Linked DNA regions of Homo sapiens: regions 2, 3, 4, 5, 6 and 7 are each linked to region 1. Evidence: promoter capture Hi-C in 16 types of primary human blood cells and fetal thymus (Javierre and others, 2016). All regions are on one chromosome and are shown on one strand. The core of a region is centred on a gene start or on the middle of the fragment in contact, and the rest is flanking DNA. Distances in the headings are between cores, read along the strand shown.

What was found. Contacts are between HindIII fragments. The CHiCAGO score rates a contact against its expected background, and 5 or more counts as called.
Region 2: a fragment that was not itself captured here is called in contact with the fragment with the promoter of ASPH in region 1 in 1 of 17 cell types (total B cells); the score reaches 7.9 in total B cells.
Region 3: a fragment that was not itself captured here is called in contact with the fragment with the promoter of ASPH in region 1 in 8 of 17 cell types (M1 macrophages, activated CD4 T cells, monocytes and 5 more); the score reaches 13.1 in M1 macrophages.
Region 4: a fragment that was not itself captured here is called in contact with the fragment with the promoter of ASPH in region 1 in 1 of 17 cell types (activated CD4 T cells); the score reaches 6.4 in activated CD4 T cells.
Region 5: a contact is called between a fragment that was not itself captured here and the fragment with the promoter of ASPH in region 1, in 1 of 17 cell types (endothelial precursors). The highest score is 6.2, in endothelial precursors.
Region 6: a fragment that was not itself captured here is called in contact with the fragment with the promoter of ASPH in region 1 in 1 of 17 cell types (monocytes); the score reaches 6.7 in monocytes.
Region 7: a fragment that was not itself captured here is called in contact with the fragment with the promoter of ASPH in region 1 in 11 of 17 cell types (naive CD8 T cells, naive CD4 T cells, total B cells and 8 more); the score reaches 15.4 in naive CD8 T cells.

The regions. Positions count from the first base shown.
Region 1 is chr8:61,712,944-61,715,996 of GRCh38, reverse strand. ASPH (aspartate beta-hydroxylase) reads left to right here and starts at 1,405. Exons shown (of 25, transcript NM_004318.4): 1 at 1,405-1,728. The coding sequence starts at 1,626. MIR4470 (microRNA 4470) reads right to left here and starts at 1,209; the gene lies at 1,138-1,209. RefSeq lists silencers at 1,196-1,565, 1,606-2,035. The HindIII fragment of the contact is 6,840 bases long and covers 1-3,053 here.
Region 2 is chr8:63,067,339-63,070,262 of GRCh38, reverse strand. The region is part of intron 2 of TTPA (alpha tocopherol transfer protein); the gene reads left to right. Among named protein-coding and RNA genes, the nearest start is that of TTPA, 17 kb to the left of the region's middle. The HindIII fragment of the contact is 8,417 bases long and covers 1-2,924 here.
Region 3 is chr8:63,198,095-63,201,267 of GRCh38, reverse strand. All of the region lies in intron 4 of YTHDF3 (YTH N6-methyladenosine RNA binding protein F3), which reads right to left. Among named protein-coding and RNA genes, the nearest start is that of YTHDF3, 31 kb to the right of the region's middle. RefSeq lists an enhancer at 1,331-1,380. The HindIII fragment of the contact is 5,756 bases long and covers 1-3,173 here.
Region 4 is chr8:63,226,964-63,230,217 of GRCh38, reverse strand. No RefSeq gene overlaps it. Among named protein-coding and RNA genes, the nearest start is that of YTHDF3, 60 kb to the right of the region's middle. The HindIII fragment of the contact is 2,985 bases long and covers 357-3,254 here.
Region 5 is chr8:63,087,329-63,090,540 of GRCh38, reverse strand. No RefSeq gene overlaps it. Among named protein-coding and RNA genes, the nearest start is that of TTPA, 2.9 kb to the right of the region's middle. The HindIII fragment of the contact is 886 bases long and covers 1,067-1,952 here.
Region 6 is chr8:63,127,570-63,130,921 of GRCh38, reverse strand. No RefSeq gene overlaps it. Among named protein-coding and RNA genes, the nearest start is that of YTHDF3-DT, 39 kb to the left of the region's middle. The HindIII fragment of the contact is 4,490 bases long and covers 1-3,352 here.
Region 7 is chr8:63,107,867-63,111,002 of GRCh38, reverse strand. No RefSeq gene overlaps it. Among named protein-coding and RNA genes, the nearest start is that of TTPA, 23 kb to the right of the region's middle. The HindIII fragment of the contact is 308 bases long and covers 1,610-1,917 here.

The DNA.
Region 1 (3,053 bases), core at 156-2,655:
TGAAATTTAGCTCTCATTTTTATTTTATATGAAGCACCATCACTCAGATTTATTTCTTAATCCAGTTCTCCACCTCCTTCATTGAGATAATATAATAGAGGGTTGTAAGGGGGCCCTGAATGGGAGAAAGGATATATGGATGCAGAAGGAGATGCCACAAGATAAAAGCTGAGAGAGCTACTTCAATAAAAACTCTGTGAACTCTCCCCTCCCACCGTCTCTTGATAATAGCCTAACACTATTTGACAAAAGGTAAAGAAAGGCATTCTCTTTATTCTGCAACATGACCTTTGGGGGGTTTCTGTGCATCATCAGGGCAGGGTCAAGCAGCATCCAACCATCCACAGGTGAAAAGGCATGGGGCCGGGGGGAGGCGGGAGTGCTTCTGAAGGCGCGGGTGGGTGGGTTTGTGGGGCTGGAAAAGAGGAATGAAACCAGATGCCACAATGCAACTGCTCTCTCTGGTCCCTGAGCCCTCCTGAGACACTCCCAGGGGTTGCTACGAAACATGATCAAGAGCTGTGGGTTCAGCAATTGACAGAAATGTATCAAATCACTAAGCATTTCTTGCTTGCCTGTTACACATTGGGCATGGTGTTAGCAATGGTGACACAAAGATGATAAAGACGTCGCTGATCTCAAGTCCTTGTCTGGTTCAACCACGTGCCAAGACATTTTAATACTCTGTTGGGAATTCTCAGGCAGCACAGGCCCAGGCGTTAGCAAAGCAGCCAGGGATTTCAGACAGAGGGTGCCATCCAGGGTAAGAAAATGAACTTTTTGTGTCACATTTGCATTTTCATTCCTTAACTAAGAGTATCTGAAAATACTGATGGCACAAACGAACTAAATTCCTGCTTCAGCACCAAATGGATGAACTACTACGGTTTAAGCATTGAACTAGTCCTAATATCACCATTCCAGAAATGTCTTAGTATTAATCAGGACAAGAAATAGGGATCTCTTTCGCAAGAAGCGAGACTGCACTCCTTCCTTTCCTTGTATACGGAAAGGGGACAAAATCCACAGTGAAAGGCCTAGAAGCGGCGCACTCCGCCCACGGGCGGCCCACGTGTCCACCTATTCCGCACCGCGCCCTGTCCCATCCCTATGGAGCGGGGTCTGCCAACGCTCGCGAGAGCCCTCTCGGCTTCCACGTTTGCCACGTTCCAAAGGACCGAGACAAACTGGAAAGCCGAAAGAGGCTCGCGCTCACAGGCAGCTGCGTAGCGCCCGAACAGCCCTAAGTGAGCAGGGGCGGGGAGCGCGGCAGGGTACCGCCGCCTCGTAAGGGCCCTTGCGATTGGGTCCCAGGCGCCGTCACTCAGCCTTCCGGGGGCGGGGCGAGGCCGGGAAGGGGCGTGGCCGTCGGGCGGCGAGCCGCGCGCTCTCGCCCCGGGAGGGAGTCACAGGTTCGTACACGCGAGGCCGGGCGCGCGCAGCCGGCAGGCGGGTGAAGTCTTCCCAGGTGCTGCAGGCGGTGCTGAGGCACAGGGTCTGCTGCAGGAGCAGCGGCCCGAACCCGCTCCAGCGGCCCGCCGCCGCCAGCGGTTCCCGCGTCGCGTGTGTACCCCCGCGCACTGAAGGAGGTCCGCCAGCCCTCACCAGCCCCCGCGGACCGTGCAATGGCCCAGCGTAAGAATGCCAAGAGCAGCGGCAACAGCAGCAGCAGCGGCTCCGGCAGCGGTAGCACGAGTGCGGGCAGCAGCAGCCCCGGGGCCCGGAGAGGTCAGAGGCCCTGCGGGGCGGGGATCTGGGGCCTCGCCTCGGGGTAGGGAGCCGGCTGGCGCGGCGGACGCTGCGGGTGCATCTCCCCAGGTCCCACCGCGCGCCGCCTCCATCCCCCGCGACGCTCCTCCTTTAGGCGCGCGGGGCGGAGGCCGCATTCGGCGGGCCTGGCGGGCGGGCGAGGGGCCAGGCGGACCGGGGTCCGAGCCCTCGGGATGCTAGTCTCGGGGAGCCCCTTCCCAGCGGTTCCTTCACCTGCAGGGCGCAGCCGAGACAGAGGTTGCTGAACGACTGTTTCTTGGCTTTCCGTGGAATTGAACATGGGAGTAAGAGAACAATTTATCGTTTGCCTTGCGTGTTTTGGGGAGTTGAAAATGAGCCAAAGTCAGGGAAAGTGAGTTCCTGCCTAACCAGCAGCGTTTCAGAGCAACTCAAAGGAGGTGAAAATGGGGGCGCCGGGGGGCAGGGGGAGGGAAGAAGTTGGGAGTGATTTGAATGCTCTCAGAAATTATTTTAAATATTTTTGCTTGTATGTAGCTTTCTTAATATGCGTTGCAGTTGCCTTTAAAATAGAATGTCATGAAATACTGAACGAGCGTCTGTATTTTTACCACTTTTACTTAAAATAAAAATCGATTGGATATTCACCTTTCTCCTCGTCCGTGTGCATATCCAGCAGAGAGAACAGATTTTTAAATCTGTTTCGTCTCATATTTCAGTGATTCTTGGTTTCTTTTATACTTCCTTTGACTCATATTTGGGATATTGAAACTGCAATACACATGTGTATGGAATGTGAGCTGTAAACTTCACTTGAAGTGATTTAGACTCTTTGTTTTCTGAGATCTTCAGATCATGCATTCATAATATACCAAGAAAATGAATCAGCTATAGTCAAAGAAGTATTTTCTTTATAGCACTTGTCACTATCTGAACTTGTCTTATTACTTTCATGTGTGTTGTCTTTGGCTCATTCTCTCTGTATCCCCAGCTCCTAGAATGTTCCTTTCCCATAATAGGTGCTCAATAAATATTTGAGTAGTGAATGAATGAATGGATTTAAATGGGGAAAGTAGTGCATTAAATCCATTGCACAAATTTACATTCTAAGGACTAATATTTGTATTCTAAAAGTAAAGATGTAGACACAGTTTGAAGTTCAATGCAAGCATATTAATTCACCTTTGACATAAGTGAAAGTTTGTGTTCCTTTTTCACTTGTTCTTAAATGTCACTTACTTAAACCTGCAGAGGGATAGATTAATTGCCTCAGCCGACTGAGGCTACTCTTTTTTAACATCCCTAAATGAGAATGGGTTCTTCTC
Region 2 (2,924 bases), core at 402-2,901, 1.4 Mb before region 1:
GGATATAATTTTATGTTTTTTGAGATCCCATAGTATACTACTAGCAGCAAAAGTAAAATTTAACAGTGAGTGTGAAGTTTTGACTGTGGCTTAGTTCTTGTGAATACAGGTTCTGGAGCATGTGACCTGGATTGGAATCTCAGCTCTGCTACATTCTAGCTGTGTGAAACACTATGTAGCTGTAACTGCATTTTCTCATCTGTAAAATGGGCACATTGAAAAGCTGTCACATAGGGTTGCTGTAAGCATTAAATCAATCTATCAGTCTGTCTATCTAAAATATAACAAGAGCATTACCTGGTACATAAAAGCACTCAATACATATTAAGTAGATACTGGAGAAGGAATTCAAAATATAAGGTATATTTTTCTTTTGCCTCAATGGAGCTTAAATTCTAGCCAGCACTGTACCATAGAACTTTCTATGATGATGAAACTGTTCTACAATAGACACTATTCTCATGTGGCTATTGAGCACTTGAAATGTGACTACTGCAACTAAGAAACAGATTTTTTTTTTTTTTTTCTAAGCTAGGGTCTTACTCTGCCATCTGGGCTAGAGTGCAGTGGCACAATCATAGCTCACTGCAGTCTTGAACTCCTGGGCTCAAGTGATCCTCCCACTTCGGCTTTTGGAGTAGCTGGGACTAGAGGCATGTGCTACCACACTCAGCCAGTTTTTTTATTATTTTTATTTTTTAGAGATGCATTCTCACTATGTTGCCCAGGATGGTCTCACTCCTGGCCTCAAGCAATCCTCCCCCATCAGACCCACAAAGTGCTGGGATTCTAGGCATGAACCACTGCACCTGGTGAAACTAAATCTTTAATTTAAATTTGAATGACCACACATGGCTAATGGCTACCATATTAGCCAGTGTAGGCCAAACAATTATGTTGGTTGGCTCAGAACTTAGGACATAAACTATTTTTTTGATTGGCAAACTTCATATGTTCTTTTTTTTTTTTTTAATCATTATAGCATTCAGCCAATGTCTGAAGTTAGTATAGTATTTTTGATCTGGGTTATCCATGGGTTGATTGTTCAAATTCTTATGAGAAATCTGAGGCTTGTTTTTTTGTTTTGTTTTGTTTTGTTTTGTTTTTTTGAGACAGAGTCTTGTTCTGTTGCCCAGGCTGGAGAGCAGTGGGCCATCTCGACTCACTACAACCTCTGCCTCCCGAGTTCAAGCGATTCTCCTGCCTCAGCTTCCCAAGTAGCTGGGACTACAGGTGTGTGTCACTATGCCCAGCTAATTTTTGTATTGTTAGTAGAGATGAAGTTTCACCATGCTGGCCAGGCTGGTCTTGAACTCCTGGCCTCAAGTGATCTGTCCACCTTGGCCTCCCAAAGTGCTGGGATCACAGGTGTGAGCCACCATGCCCGGCCAGAAATCTGAGGCTTTTAAAAAACACTAACACACCTCCTGAAGGATCCATTAATATGACAGAAAATAAAAATTTTTAAAAAATAGCAATCCCATTGTGGCTTCTTAGGAATATTTCTGTTTATTCTTTCTTTTTCTAGATCTTCAACTTTTCTCTTGCTACTACATGCTACCAGTTAACATTTAAATCAGTTAAGGGCCAGCCACTAAAAACAAAACAAAAACTCCTCATTCGTTCCACAAAACTCTCCCTCCTTCATTACATCTATCTCCCCTCTCTTTGTTAGTGATGTCCACCATCCACATTTTCTCACAGTTCCTCCTCAGCCCACCCTAGTTTGATTTCACTCCCATCCCTGCTGAAATGAATGTAACCAACCATTATTGACTTTCTTTTTACCACATTTAATGGACATATTTAGTCCTATTTCACTTAACCTCTCAACAAAGTGAATCACTTCTGCTTTCTTGAAAAATCCTCTTCCCTTGGCTTCTCTGATGCCATGTTCTCTTGGTGTTTTTCTCTGACATCACTGGCTGCTCCTCCTTAATCTCTTTTTCTGGCATTTCCTCTTCTACTCATCCTTTAAACTCTGAATTTTTTTAGGACATTGGCCTCAGCCTTTTCTTTTTATGTTACTTCATCTCTCTGCTTTGATAGAGAAAAACATAGCTCTGAGACAATCCCTGTTGTGGATCATCATGTAGGCACAAACAGCCCCCAGATTTGTATCTTCACTCCCATCTTTTCCTTGAGGATCCAGACCCACACAACTAGCTGCTATTCCAGCTGCACCCAGTTGGATGTCTCATGGTCACCATTTTAACATGTCCATACTTATAATCTTTTCCACCCAAACAGGTCTCTTATCTCAATAAATGGTACTGCGTGTACACCATGGAGTACTACACAGCCATAAAACGAATGACATTATGTCCTTTGCAGCAACAGGGATGCAGCTGGAGGCCATTATCTTAAGTGAATTAAAACAGGAACAGAAAACGAAATACCACATGTTCTCACTTATAAGTAGGAGCTAAACACTGGGTGTTTATGACATAAAGATGGGAACAGTAGACACTGGAGATGACAAGAGAGGAGAGGGAGGGAGGGGAGCAAGCGTTGAAAAACTTCCTATTGGGTACTGTGCTCACATACCTGGGTGACAAGATCATTTATACCTGAAACCTCAGCATCATGCAGTATACCAAGGTAACAAATCTGCACATGCACCCCCTGAATCTAAAATAAAAGTTGAAAATAAATAAATAAATGGTGCCACAATTCTATCCAGTTTCCCATGCCAGAACTTTTGTTGTTTTTTTTTTTTTTTGAAAATTTACTATTGCTTAGTTATGATTTTTTTTTCTTTTTCGTTCATCCTGTTAGGCACTTCAGTCTGAAGACTTACATGTTTTTTTTTTCAGCTTTGGAGAACTTTTCTCTATTGCTATGATTCCTCTCTCCTCTGTTTTCTGTTACTGCCTTCTAGAACTTTTATTAGTTGGATGTTGAAACTCCTGGATCCAGCTGCA
Region 3 (3,173 bases), core at 532-3,031, 1.5 Mb before region 1:
ACAGGCATGAGCCACACCTAGCTGTAAATCTCTATATAAACACATGCAATGGCTTAGATATTTCTCTTACTTTTTGCAATCCTTGTTTGATTGAAGGCTTAGATATTTCTAAAGTGACACTTCAACATATCTAATTTGTATGTAACTTCCTTGCTTAAAAACTTTAAAAATGATTCCTCAATACTATCAGACTTTAGCTCCTTGAAGACAGAAATTTTCTTAATGAGCTCTATCCCTTAAGTGTCTAGCATGTTCAAAAATGCCTGCTGAATAACAATTCCTTCGACTTGTGATTCATCTTTCCAACTTTATCTCTTTTTCTGTACTGCCTCCCCTCCCTAAGTTTTGGCTATTTTCGATTACTTCAACATATCACAATACCCTAGGCTCTGAATGCCTGTCTTGACTTTATTATGAAATCCTACATATTATCATTCAAGGCCCATCTTAAAAATTCACCTTGACACCCTGAAACTCCCAATCAAAATTGTATTTGCTAGAAATAAAGATAACATGTTTTAAATTGAATAAGGCTTTAATCTAATTTTTCAGTTTACAAATAAAAATTTGAAAACCTGATAATCATAACAAACACTGCCAGACCACCATAAATTCAAATCAGGTACCATGATTTGATATAACCATATGGTCCACCCATAAAAAGGTTCAAAAGAGTTGTGGCAGGGAGTACCACAATGGTCTCTGCATTCAGGTATTCACACCCTTATAAATCCCCTCCCCTGAGTATGGCCTGGACCCAATGAGTGAATTGCTTCTAATCAACAGAATTCAGCAGATGTTCAATCCCCAGTATCTCAAATTAAAGAATAAGGAAAAAAAAAAGAAAAAAAAGAAAAAGAAATTTAAAAATTTAAAAAAAAATTCAGCCGAGGCGACAGAGTGTCACTTCTGTAATTAAGTTACAAAAGACTGTGACTTCTGTCCTGGTAGCTACTGCCTCCTCAGCTTACTCTATTGCCCTCTCAGCTTGCTCACTTTGATGAAGCAAGCCTCCTGTGGGAAAGTCCCATGTGGCAAGGAACACAGTATAGGCAGCCTCTGGCATACAGCCAAAAGGAACTGAGGCTCTTAGTCCAACAACGCTTGAGAAACTGAATTCTGCCAACAACCGTGAGTTTGGATGCAGATTTTTCACCAGCAGAGTATTCACAATGAGACCTCAAGCCCTGCCTTGACTGTAGCCTTGTGAGAGGCCCTAAAGCTGAGGACCCAGACAAGCTGTGCCCAGATTTCTGACATGCAAAAACTGTAAACTGTATGTTTTAAGCCAATGAGTTTTGGAGAAATCTATTAGACAGTCGTAAATAACTGAGACAGCAATTCACAACAGACCAAACACTATCCCTACTCATTTAATACAACAAAGGCCAAAGTACAGAGAATGGAGCTGTGATATCTTTCCCTAACTTCAACAGTATTCATGTATGAGTAGGGTAAAATACCCAGCAGATTTTTATAAATTAAAAAAAAAATGTTTAAGCCATTCCAAGAAACAGGTAAAGTCAGTTAAGCACCTCAAATGACCCTTATGGAAGAATAACTCTTATCTTCGGTAACTACAGCTCTTCATTCATGAAAAAATATTCTTTCCTTGGACACACATACCTTAAATTAAGAAACTGAATGTCACATTTAAAATAAACTATTAAACAGGAATAATTCAATAATTTATTTCTGGAAACATAAGATATTTCATATCCACCTAAGGTTAATTATATTGCTACTCAAGTTATCATGTATTTGCTGAAGAAAAAGATAAATTAAACACAGCTGACCCTTCAACAACACTGGTGTGAACTGCAGGAGTCCACTTACAACGAATTATTTCAACGAAAGAGATAAAAAAATGCAGTATTCAAGGGATGTAAAACATGCCTATATGGAGGGAGAAGCGACTGCAGAACTTGAGTATGTGCAGATTTTGGTATTTGCGGGGGTCCTGGAATAATCCCCTGTATATACCAAGAAATGACTATAAATGAAATTCTGTCCAATTTAATCACCTCACAATTATAGTATGGAAGAAGTATCTCCCAAAGATCTATGATTAACTTGATAAAGTTATCAGCATTGGAACATAACCACTATTAATAATCTGAGAAAAAATAAAAACAAATCAATATGTTAATTGAAGCACCCCCTTTCCAATTCTAACTCATAAAAAATATTTACCAAGTTCAGAATAGAGTAATACTGCAGTAAAAACTCAATCATCTTGACTATTCAAAATACCAATGTTTTTATCAAGGAATTATTTAATCAAATATGTTACATTATTTAATTAAATATGTTACATAAAAGTTTATTGTATCAAATGTGTTACATACTGGGCCCAACTTTACATTCTAGAAAAACATTCTTCAAATTTTACAAAAGTAGATTTTATATATTAAATTTGTTTCTGTTAATTATAATAAACTTTTTCATCAACAGAGAACTATAACCACAGAAAAATTTACCAAAGGGTAATAGAATACACTTCAATCCACGTTACTAAAAACTGCCAGGGAAATGTTTGCTGTTGTCATAAGTATAACTATTTTTGAAGTAATTTCTTCTATGTTAACACAAAGTTGAGTACTCTGAGATAGACCTAACATCATCTCATCTTAAAGTTATTCCAAATATGAAAAAAAATGTATCAGGCACTAAAACTTAAATCTTCAGAAATGCCCAACTTGGCCAGGCACGGTGGCTCAAGTCTGTAATCCCAGCACTTTGGAAGGCAGAGGTGGGCAGATGACCTGAGGTCAGGAGTTTGAGACCAGCCTGGCCAACATGGTGAAACCCCATCTCTACTAAAAATACAAAAATTAGCCAGCCATGGTGGCGCACACCTGTAGTCCTGGCTACTCGGGAGGCTGAGGCATGAGAATCGTTTGAATCCCGAAGGTGGAGACTGCAGTGAGCCCAGATTGTGCCACTGCACTCCAGCCTGGGCAACAGAGCAAGGCTCTGGAAAGAAAAGAAAGAGAAGGGAAGGTGGGGGAGTGGGGAGGGAAAAGGAAAGGAAAGGAAAAGAAAAGAAAGAAGAGAAAACAAAGAAATGGCCAACTATGTAACAGCATAAAGAACTAAAATACACACAAAATTCTAGAGATTTTATTATAATTATGCCTTGCTTATTTCTGCATAAACGGCAGGGCTCCATC
Region 4 (3,254 bases), core at 600-3,099, 1.5 Mb before region 1:
TGTCAATTCATAATTAGATTACATAAGAGTGTGATTTCTGTCTTGCTAGCAACCTCTCTCCCTTGCTGGCTTCAAGAAGCAAGCTGCTCTGTGGAGAGGCCCACATGGCAAGGAACTGAGGATGGAGCCTTCAGCAAAAACCAGCAAGGAACTGAGGTCCTCTGTTCAAGAATCCCTGAGGAACAAAACCCTACCAACAATCACATAAGCTTAGAAGCAGATCCTTCCCCAGACTTTTACTGAAGGCACCAGCCTTGGTGGACACCTTGATTGCAGTCTCATGAGAGACCCACCTAAGCCATGCCTGATTCCTGACACAAAGAAACTGTGAGGTAGTAAATGTGCTATTCTAAGCTTTTAAGTTTGTATTAATTTGTTACTCAGAAATAGATAACTAATATAGGGCCTCTCTGCATAATTACATCATGCAGTGGAACTAAACTCCCAGAGGGAGAGAAATTCGTTTCATGTTTCCGTCCACCTATTGGTGGGTATGAGAATTCTCATACTCCTGTTGCAGTATCATAAATATGCATTGAAGCCCCAGCCAGGTGAATGCTACTGATCTTAATCTCTTCGTGCATAAAGGATTTTAAAAAAAGGCATTTGAAATGTCTAAGATGACATTCCAGGTGCCAACAGTTTTGATATACAATGTCTGAAATAGCAGGAATATAACAACTGAATTCAATAGTAATAATCTACCATAATGGAAACCTCTAGCTCCTATCAGCCTGTCCAGTGGGCACACTGAACTACTGTAATAAATTGCATTTGTCAATACCACTGCTGTCTTGAAGTCCTTAATTATGGTTTTGTGTTCCTTTACTCCTCCTGTAATTATATGGTGTTTTTGTTGCATAATGTGGATGGAATTGGAGGCCTAGTAAGTGCGTTCATCCCACTATCACAAGCAACTCTTCTCAATTGAAATTTATGAGCACTTACAAGTATGCAAAGTATCAATACCAACTGTGCATTCAGCAATAAGAGCAATAATGGCAGTGCCTAAGAATGCTTTAAGCAGCCCAACACAGATGATTACAGTTACTTCTCTTACATATTTCACTCCCCTTTCAAATCTGGCCAGTTGAAGCTGTGGTCCTCACCCCTCAAAAGAACCTGCTAAGATAATCATGTGAACACTGATACCCAAAAGAGCCATAAAAATTTGTATGCAGGTCGGGCACGGTGGCTCACGCCTGTAATCCCAGCACTTTGGGAGGCCGAGGCGGGCGGATCACAAGGTCAGGAGATCGAGACCATCCTGGCTAACATGGTGAAACCCCGTCTCTACTAAAAATACAAAAAAATTAGCCAGGCATGGGACCAGCCAGACGCCTGTGGTCCCAGCTACTGGGGAGGCTGAGGCAGGAGAACGGCGTGAACCCAGGAGGCGGAGCTTGCAGTGAGCAGAGATCGTGCCACTGCACTCCAGCCTGGGCGAAAGAGCGAGACTCCATCTCAAAAAAAAAAAAAAATTGTATGCCAGCTAGGCATGATGGCTCACACCTGTAATCCCAGCACTTTGGGAAGCCGAGGCCAGTGGATCACGAGGTCAGGAGTTTGAGACCAACCTGGCCAACATGGTGAAACCCCATCTCTACTAAAAACACAAAAATTAGCTGGGCATCATGGTGGGTGCCTAGGATCCCAGCTACTCGGGAGGCTGAGGCAGGAGAATCGCTTGAACCCGGGAGGTGGAGGTTGCAGTGAGCCAAGATCATGCCACCGTACTCCAGCCTGGGTGACAGAGTGAGACTCTATCTCAAAAAAAGAAAAAAACTATTGTATGCCAAATCCCTCCATCCTATCCCACTGTATCCTCAATGGAATGCAAGGTCTTCAGTAACTTCTAGGATCAGGGACCTTGTCTATCTTCCTCTCATAGGCTGTCAAATCGGGATACAGGAGCAAGGGTCAGGCAGCCTCTTGACTTCTTTTCTCCAGTAGTTGGAGGTTGATCATTTTGGAGGAATCTGATTCTAAAGAAGCACCTTCTGTTTCAAGTGGGTGGAAAACTGCCTGCTGAAGCCCACCTGCCCCCGTTAATATCTTGACCCAATTACTCCAAGTGCCAACCACATCAGTTTCTTCCTTGGGATCCATATCACCTTATCACCAGGTTCCTTTGAAGAGGGTTTGTTTTTATTCCTATCCTTCATTTTGTCTCATTTTGCAGAGATATTGCTTTGTTTACAGGGTGTGTCAATCTTTATCCTGGGTAATCAATCATTCACAGATTCTTGCACAGTGACTCTAGCTACCGACAATAAAGTTAATGTTCCCAACATTTAGGGGCAGATTTTGGTACAGAGGTCGTTTTTGGAGTTGCCATTTTGTCCATTGTCCAGACTGCCATGACAAGCCAGTCTGGAGAAGCTATAGTTCTTGTGCTGTGATACCATATTCCATAGTATTTTCTGGGATTTTTTTTTTTTTTTTTTTTTGAGACGGAGTTTCGCTCTGTCGCCCAGGCTGGAGTGCAGTGGCACGATCTCGACTCACTGCAAGCTCCGCCTCCCGGGTTCACGCCATTCTCCTGCCTCAGCCTCCCGTGTAGCTGGGACTACAGGCGCGCGCCACCATGCCCGGCTAATTTTTGTATTTTTAGTAGAGACGGGGTTTCACCGTGTTAGCCAGGATGGTCTCGATCTCCTGACCTCGTGATCCGCCCGTCTCGGCCTCCCAAAGTGCTGGGATTACAGGCGTGAGCCACCGCGCCCGGCCACTTTCTGGGATTTTATGGCCCTGAAAAAGTCTCCATGAGTTGGCCATAAGTACATCAGTACAATCAGAGGGCCATGGAAACAGAGATCCAAAGCCTTTCTTTGAAGCCTGATCCTACTCCAATTGAATAGTCTGTGTGATGGCTTGAGGCATGGAATCATATATGAGAAGGCCTAGTTGCTGCCTTTCACATCCAACAACATAACTTTCCTCACTTTCTTGTCATACAGACACACCAACCAAGTCTCTAACAGCTTCCTGCTTAGAAATATTTCCTTCAAGTTCTGCTCAAAAACTAAACTGTTTCTTCTTTAGTTCATCTCTATTTTTTCATGCGCAGCCAAAAGAAATCCATTGGTACTTTTTCTTTCACCTGAAAAATTCCTTTAGCCAAATTGTGTTAAAAGTATCTCTCCGCAACTTACCAGATATGATACTGGACAGACATTTAACTTCCTTTAGTTGGGATTTCCTCACTTCACTAATAGGAATATTGTTCCCATTCTTAACAAGCTGTTCAGGGG
Region 5 (3,212 bases), core at 260-2,759, 1.4 Mb before region 1:
TGAATACAGAGTGGGTACTAGATAATACTGGGGAATTGTTGCTAATTTTTTAAGTGTGAAAAATGGTATCGTGGTGATGTAAAAAATTTATTTTGTAGTATTTACAAGAGTATGATATTTAAAATAGTATGATATGTGGGTATGTCTTTAAAATATTTCAGCTTATTAAAAAAGTAGGGGAGGTGGATAAAACAAGATTGGCAAAATATCATTGATTGCTGAAGCAGACTGTATATTGGTATTCATTACTATTATTTTTACATATGGTTGAAATGTTCTGTGGTAAATATTATTTTATAAATTTTACATAGAGTTTCCCAAGTGATGTGGGGTAATATTTCTGCTTCAATGGAAAATTATGCATTACATAGACTCTAGATGGCACCTCCTGCATTATTTGATTCTCATTCTATCGAAGCTATTTTACAATTCTGTGAACTGTAGATAACTGATAGCAATGGCAAATAATTCTTGTCTAATAACATGCTAATTCTGAACTGCCTGGAGGAGTTTTGATTGACCTCTCTCCCTCACTGTGAAAGAAGTTAGTTTTGCCTCCATTTGCACATCCCTTTCAACATCCTTTACTCCATGTAAATGTGTGCTTTTTTTTTTAACTTATTTGAACTTGCAATAACATGTGTCTACTTTCCTCCTTACCAGTTGAATAAAATCTTTAACACTTGTTCAGTTTTATATATGTATAAGTGTCATAATTTTATCTCTTTTTGAAAATGTTATCTTTTAACAGTGAAAAATATTTGTCTTTTCTGTGAAGCTGAAAGTAAAATAAATTGGTATACTTATGAATTATTATGCTAATAAATAACTAAATGTTAAATAATTTCAGAGTAAATTGTAAGGTAGCTACAAAAGTCAACTAACTTTTCATTCCAGTTTTGCTTTTATTTCCTCATACCATTAGTTCCAGAAATCCCTTTGGACTCTTTCAGCCAGAGGCCTGGATGCATTTTCGGTAAACACAAGAGCTCACCAGAGTAAAATATGAGCATAGAAAATTTGAAAACATTTCAAAACAAAAATTGAGTAACAGCTCTTGAAAGCTTGTGCCAAGAATTCTAAAATTTTTATATAAATCCAAGATAACATTGTTGAAAGACAGAAGCACGATCTGTATAATTTAACCCCAAAGTAATCAAGTTGTAGTGTAAAATTCTCACCTTTTATGTCTGCCCCATCAATTCTTCAACTTTTTTCTCTCTTTCCCATAGTCGTGCAATCTTTTCTACCACTGGGCTAACTGCTGACATTGGCATTGCTTCCCACTTGAGTTATAGATATCCACCGCTCCCTCTGCCACCTCTTAGGTATTTAGGAGCCACCTCTCACCACCATCTGGGCTCCATGTTGGCTTCATTTTCACTGAGTTTAATGGCAATCAATCAGTCAATCTTATTGATTTCTTAGAAGAGTTTCACAGATGCAGAAATAACAGATTTATCAGTTCTAAAAAGGGACACTAGGCCAGGCACAGTGGCTGACACCTGAAATCCCAGCACTTTGGGAGGCTGAGGCGGGCTGATCACGAAGTCAAGAGATAGAGACCATCCTGGCCAACATGGTAAAACCCCATCTCTACTAAAAATACAAAAATTAGCTAGGCATGGCAGTGTGCGACTGTGGTCCCAGCTACTCAGGAGGCTGAAGTAGGAGAATCTATTGAACCCTGGAGGCGGAGGTTGCAGTGAACTGAGATTGCATCACTTCACTCCAGCCTGGCAATAGAGCAAGACTCCGTCTCAAAAAAAAAAAAGGGATACTACAATGAAGGAAACCAAAAATATGCCATTCACAATATACTCCTTTGGTCTATTTTGAGATGGCTATTCAGAGGGACTGCCAGCACAAGAATAGCCCTGAAAAGCTGTCTTTTATAGGGGAGATTTGTATCTGTAGAGAAAATCCATATAGGTGAAATAAACATCCAAGCTTTCTCTGAGGCTCCCCTTCTCTGGATCTAGGAAAGATTAACTTTTGGGAAAAAGGGACTAAAAGTTGGACACCTTAAAGGTCCACTAGGGAAACTGTTACTACAGGCTCCTGTCTTATTCTTTCTGAGAGCTCCTCCCTGGAGGATTTTATCTGCAAAACTAGGTAGGCTCTATGCCATGCTTTCCCCCTCACTTTCCCATAACCCGTGTCTCCATCTCTCCTCGAGAAGCCCCAAGCCCCTATTCTTTCTGTAACCTCAGGATGGTATAAAACTTCATTATCTGGCCCCTTCTTTAAGTCTCATACTTTGTGTATGACTCCCTTGTTTACACACGTTAATATACGCATGTGCCTTTTTCCCATTCGTCTGTCTACTGTCAGTTTGTTTTATAGACTAAAATCATGGAACTTACAGAGGGGAAGAGACATTCTCTTTGCACCTTCAATGGCTATAGCTAGATAATGTCCCCGATCTCTCACTGAACTTTCTGCCCAATTTCAAAAAAGTGGATGCTAATTACTAAAAACAAGTAGGAGAGAGCATTGAAAAAAATCTTTTGGAAGGGAGGAAAACATGCTCTATAGGCCCTCTCTTATTATTTTTAGACACTTAAAACTTCTAGAGAAGAAAGGCTACCATTGTCTTTTAATTCTTCGGAGCTTCCAGAAAGGCCTTGCACAGTCAGCCCCTCTTGACTAGTACTTTCTTCCTTCCCCCTCTCTCCTTTGGTTGGCAAACATTCCCAGTGCATTCACTAAGGCCGTGCAAACAGCCCCTTTGTGAGGCCTTTCCAAATCTCTTAGGCAGTGTCGGTAGTGTTCCTCTGTGTTCTCACACCATGGTCTCCAAACCTGTTTTGTACACTTGTCACATTGACTTGTAAACCTTTACTCAAATAGCTTCCGTCTCACTCTGAGTATAAGCCAAAGCTAGGAATCTTTTGTCCCCAGGTATAGTTGCTTTCTGGTTGGATTGGGATTATTTACTCTAATGCTTCCCATCTCCCTCAGAACAGAAGCCAAAGCCCACAGCCTTCCAGTCCCAGATACCCCTGGGCCAAGCTCGCTCACCTCACTCAGGTGTTTATTCCAACGTCACTGTAGGTGCTGCCCACTTTTTGGCTTCGTTTCCCCATAGCATTGACTGCCATTTCTTATATCACATTATTTACTGATTTATCTTGTTAATCATCCATTCCCTCCCCCAAAAGAATGAAAACTCCTTGAAAGCAAGAGTTGTGTCTATTTTGTTCACAGGA
Region 6 (3,352 bases), core at 430-2,929, 1.4 Mb before region 1:
GACAAACTATATACTTTATTGTCTGTATTCTTTCTTACAGCTTATATGAATCTACAATTATCTCAAATGACATTAATTTTAAATAAATAAGTAGTCACATCTCTCTTAAAAAGTAGGGCAGATATGAAAAAAATATGACATTAAATGAGAATGTGTAAAATGTTATATTTTATTTTACACATACAGACACACACACACACACACACATTTTTGAGACAGGATCTCCCTCTGTCACCCTTGCTGGACTGCAATGATGTGATCATAGCTCACCGTAGCCTCTACCTTCCAGGGCTCAGGTGATCCTCCCATCTCAGCGTCTCAAGTAGTTGGGATTATAGGCTTGCACCACCATGCCCAGTTAATTTTTGTATTTTTTGGTAGAGACGGGGTTTCACCATGTTGCCCAGGCTGGTCTTGAACTACTGGACTCAAGTGATCTACCCGCCTTGGCTTTCCAAAGTGCTGAGATTACAGTTGTGAACCACCATGCAGAGCCTATTTCACTATATTTTTGAAGAATGTTTAATGTTATTTAAAACAATTTAACTTTATATGAAAAGAAATCTAATCAGAATGATTCCAATCTTTTAATTTATACATAAAAAGACTGAGAAAAAATAAAATGTTAATTCGGTATTAATTTACATGGTTATTTTCTCCTCCTTGTAACTTTTCCAGATTTCAGATTTTCTATTCTTATAATTTAAAAAATTTAACAGGAATTTAACGTATAAAGTAGATAAGGTTGAAATGATACAATGTCTGGGATTTGTGTCAAATGCAAGGAGGAGAGAAGGAATTAGATGGTTAAAGAGAAAAACAAGTTTGGGTGAGTTGGTAATTTTTGAGGCTGGGTGATGATAGGTCCCCAGGGTTTCCTTTCTATTCTCTTTACTTATCTATTTGAAATTTTTCATAATAAAAATTTTTTAAAGAATTAGCTTATACAAGCAAACGTACAGTCAATTTTTTCTTATCCACAGTAGTTCTATAAAGTCATCTCAAACATTGAATTAGACATTACAGAGCCATTGCTCCTGGGCATAACATAGGGTTAGGTTCCCTCAAGCCCCTGGTCACAACATTCTCATCAGGGGATAACCAGGTAACCTTGTTTTATTCCTGTTTCTGTTTAAAGACACCTTATTTAATATAAACTATTGATTCATTAACACTGAACTCATGGCCAAAGCGCTATAACTGCTGCCTGAAGGAAGTTTCTTTAACATACTTAATTTTCTTCATAAGACACATTACAGCTTCTTCAATTAGGAACACTGGACAGCACTTCAGAACTACACTTGGGAGCCATTTCAGACAACAAAATCACCAAGAAAAAGTACACAAATGTAAAAAATGTGGCACTATGAAGATCACAAAAAAGAAACTTGTTTACTGTGTAAGAACTAAAAGAAGGCGGCGGAGTATCACCTGGTTTGAGTTCAGCTGGGAAAATGGGCCTCCTCCAGCAATGCAATTTTTTTTTTTTCTGTTCTGTGCACGTGTATGTCTGTGACTATGAAAGCACTGGAGTGTTGATTTGGGGGTTACAAATTTTTTTTTTTTACAGATGGGGGGTTGGGGGGTTCGCCATGTTGGTCACGCTGGTCTCGAACTCCTGGCATCAAGTGATCTGCCCGCCTCGGCTTCCCAAGGTGCTGGGATTACAGGTGTGAGGGAGCATGCCTGGCATACAAATAAATTTTAATGAGTGGACATATTTGCAAATACAGAATCTGAAAATAATGAAGATTGACTGTATTTAAAGTAACAAGCATAGTGATTGACACATTGTGATAACTAAGTGTTCCTTCTTGTTGATATAGACTATGATACTGAATTATTAAACAAAATTTTACAGGAGTATTGTAGTTCTCTAAGTTAAATATATTAGAAAGCAATGTATAGATTAAACAGATATGTCATTTGTAGCTGATTAAAAGTGGTGGTTGGGTCATAATCTAGCCTATGAGAAAATCAGCTTTAACATGAATGTTTTAAAATTAAAGTTTTTTGGCCGGACATGGTGGTACACGCCTGTAATCCCAGCTACTTGGGAGGCTGAGGCTGGAGAATCGCTTGAAGCCAGGAGGTGGAGGGTGCAGTGAGCCGAGATCAAGCCACTGCACTCCAGCCTGGGTGACAGAGTGAGACCCTATCTCAAATAAATAAATAAAGTAACAAAATAAACAGAAATAATAACCAAATGCTGTATTGGACAAACCATGAGTCCAGAATTCTATAAGAGGCAGTGAAAAATACTGAGAATGCATGGATTTTTCACTTGTATATCTTACTTTGAATCCTGGCCAAGGTACACAATAGCTGTATGGCTTTAAGTAAGTTAGTTAATGCTTCCTTGGTTTCCTTACTTCAATGTTTTACTTTTAAATTATTTATTTATTTGTTTTTAAGAGAAAGGGTCTCTCTCTGTTGCCCAGGCTGGAATTCAGGGGTGCAACCACAGCTCACTATAACCTCAAACCCCTGGCCTTAAGAGATCCTCCTGCCTCAGCCTCCCAAAGTGCTGGGATTACAGTCCTGAGCCGCAGCAACAGGCCAGTTTCTTAATTTAAAAAATGGAATCATGGTGCCCATCTCACAGGGTTGCTCTGAATCTTGCGCCCAGTGCCTGAGGCCCAGCGGGGACTCACCCAATGCTAGTTCTCTCTGATGCCTGGGGATGTGCTATAAAACAGCAGAGTAATTGCACTTTACCACATTCACACACTTAAAATTAGCAAATAGTCTTAAATTCATCTTTAGAAACCCATCACGAATATTTCATTCAGGAGTTACAATTATACTTATGAAGCAGGAGACTGATTTTGCAATATTTATCGGTCTCTATCCAAACCCCCTCTTCTCTTTTCTCCCTTTTCCTTTTGCTTCTTGATCCTTTTTCCATATTTAAGCAGCAGCTGGACTCTTAGGTTTACACTCATGGAAAGGATGTGGCTACAGAAAAAATAAAAAGGTTAGGGGGAGTCTCTTCTTGGCTTTTGAGTTTTAAAAGCAGAGACCTACAGATAAAAAGAAACTGAAGAATAGACAGAAGAGTTGGAGGATATCAGAAAGAATACAGCTCTTCCTCTTCCATGTCCCTATACACCCTTTGCAAACAAGAATCCCCAAGGTTGAGAGGAGTTTGGAAAGTCTGAGAGGAGGGTCGTGGGAGGGCCCGAGAGAAACAAATTGCCCCTGCTGAGCTCCAGAAAGAACTACCCCATGTGGGGGCGAGAGGTCCATACCACTTCCTTACTTCCCAGGTGGACTCCAGCAATGCGCCCAGACTCACTGGAAGCAGCTGTGAAGTGTGTCTGTGCAGGTGCGCTCCTAGCCTCAGGGGAGT
Region 7 (3,136 bases), core at 514-3,013, 1.4 Mb before region 1:
AAGCAATGATCTATTAAAAACACTTAAGGCCGGGCGCGGTGGCTCACGCCTGTAATCCCAGCACTTTGGGAGGCCGAGGCGGGCAGATCAAGCGGTCAGGAGATCGAAACCATAGTGGCTAACACGGTGAAACCCCGTCTCTACTAAAAATACAAAAAAATTAGCCGGGCGTGGTGGCGGGCGCCTGTAGTCCCAGCTACTCTGGAGGCTGAGGCTGGAGAATGGCATGAATCCAGGAGGCGGAGCTTGCAGTGAGCCGAGATAGCACCACTGCACTCCAGCCTGGGCGACAGAGGGAGACTCCGTTTCAAAAAAAAAAAAAAAAAAAATTAAAAGACATAATTCTGATCCTTATAACTGTGAGGTCCTTGGAAATAACAGGTGGTACCTGGACCGTACTTTGTGAGCCATTAATTTACAATATAGAACTTTAAGAAATTTGGATAAGTAATTTTCCAATTACCAGTAGTTCTCAACTTTCAGGTATTCAGCTGAAGTAATAAAAAATTATGGCACACTTCTGATCACATGCACTTATGTGGCATTACCTATGGTATTTAGAGCAGTCTGCAAAAACTGTAACTTACAATCTTCTCCCTCGTGCTGTGGCCCAGAGGTCCTTTATCAGTGAGGCTCAGTAAGTTTCCCCCTTTACTGTATGTTTGTTCCCCAGTGACCTCTCTGGCTCATGACTGCAGATATCACAAAATTACCTCATTGTAATATATGGTCTTCAGCTTTTTTCCTGGTTGTACCATCAATAAATGCAGGTTAATTTTAATGGAATTAGTTGTAATTTTATGTCATTACACTGATTTAACAACTAAAGAATGTGAAAGTTTATTACTTGTGAATAAATTTATAGAGTATCTATAAAAGGTTTTTGTGGCTGACTGAATAATGGTTCCCAAACATATGAAGGAATTTCAAAAAGTTTATGGAAAAATGGAGTTAAAAGATAAAAATAAAATGATAAACTTTATTTCTCAACATAACTTCCATCAAGGTCAAGATACTTTTTTGTAAGCAATGATACCAGCTGTTTAGTCCCTTCCTAAAGAACTGAAAATCCTGGGAATTTAACCATGTGAATGTAGTCTTTTTTATATTACTAACAGACATGAGCTCTCTTTAAAGATTTTTTAAGATTAGGAAACAAAAAGAAGTTGAAAGGAGTGAAATCAGCACTGTAAGGTAAATACCTAATGATTTCCCATCAAAACTCTCACAAAGTTCCCCTTGTTTGATGAGAGCAATGAGCAGGAGCATTGTCGTGGTGGTGAAGAACACTCTGATAAAGTTTTCTTCCATGTTTTTCTGCTAAAGTTTTGGCTAAATTTCTCAAAAACGCTCTCATTATAAGCAGATGTTATTGCTCTTCAGCCCTCCAGAAAATCAACAGGTAAAATGCTTTGAGCATCCTGATACACTGTTACCATGACTTTTACTCTTGACTAGATAGACCCTTCCACCTCTTGGTAGCCATTGCTTTGATTGTGCTTTGTCTTCAGGGTCATACTGGTAAAGCCATGTTTCACCTCCTGTTACAATTCTTTGAAGAAATCCTTCAGGATCTTGATCCCACTTGGTTAAAATTTCCATTGAAGCTTGTTCTTGTCTGCAGCTGATCTGCATGCAATGGTTTTGGCTTCCATTGACTGGAAAGTTTGTTCAAATTTGTTTCTTCAGTCAGAATTGTGTGAATGAAATCAATTGAGATGTCTATAGTGTTGGCTATTGTTTGTGCTGTTGTCACTTCTCTTGAATTAAGGCATGAACAAGATACATTTTTTTCCCGACAAATTGATGTGGATGGTCTGCCATTCAGGGCTTCATCTTCAACATTGTCTTGTCCCTTCTTAAAACAAATATCCAATTGTAACCTCTGATTCCTTTGAGGCACTGTCCCTGTAAGCTTTTTGTAAAGCATTAATGATTTCGTCTTCTCTCACCTAAGCTTCACCACAAATTTTATGTTTGTTCTTGTGTTAATTTTAGCAGAATTCGTGTTGCTGTGATAGGGGCTTTTCTCAAACTGATGTCTTATCCTTTTTAGTGCCTTAAACTAGATTCTGTTTAGACATGTTGTAATAAGTTAGTACGAGCTTATTTTGGTGCAAAAAAACTTAAAGTCCATGCATAGTTTTTTCATAATATGTATTTTCTGTGAGTTTTTTGAAGACCTCTCCTATTTATGTCTTATGCCCTGGAACTTGTAAATGTTACCTTATAAGGCAAAAGACACTTTACAGATATGATTAAATCAGGGATCTTGAGATGGAGAGACTATCCTGATTATCTAGGTGTGCCTGATGTAATTACAGAACTCATTATAAGAGAGATACATGAGGAATCAAAAGTTAGAGAAGAAGGTGATGTGATGAAGAAGTAGATGAGTAGTGATGACATACTTTGAAGATGGAGGAAGAAGCCACAAGCTAAAGAATACAGGCTAGGCTGGGTGCAGTGGCTCATGCCTATAATCCCAGCACTTTGGGAGGCCGAGGTAGGTGGATCACTTGAGGTCAGGAGTTCAAGACCAGCCTGGCTAACATGGTGAAACCCCGTCTCTACTAAAAATACAAAAATTAGCCGGGTGTTGTTGTGGGTGCCTGTAATCCCAGTTACTCGGGAGACTGAGGCATGAGAATCACTTGGACCCGAGACGTGAAGGTTGCAGGGAGCCAAGATTGTGCCACTGCACACCAGCCTGAGTGATAGAGCAAGACTCAGTCTCAAAAAAAGAATACAGGCTAGAAGCAGAAAAATGCAAGAAGATGAATTCTCCTTTAAGATCCTCCAGAAAAAACCCACACCTTGTAAACATCTCAACTATAACTATGTAAAACTGATTTTGAACTTCCAGCCTCCAAAATTGTAAGATAATATATTTGTGTTGTCTTTTAGAAACAGGGTCTCACTGTGTTGCCCAGCCTGGAGTGCAGTGGCTATTTACAGGCCTGATCATAGCACACTACATCCTCAAACACTTGGGCCCAAACAATCCTCCTACCTCAGCTTCCTGAGTAGGTGGGACTACAGGCACATGCCACTGCACCTGGCTAAATTTGTGTTATTTTAAGTTACTAAATTTGTGGCAATTTGTTACAATAGCAACAGGAAATTAATATAGTTG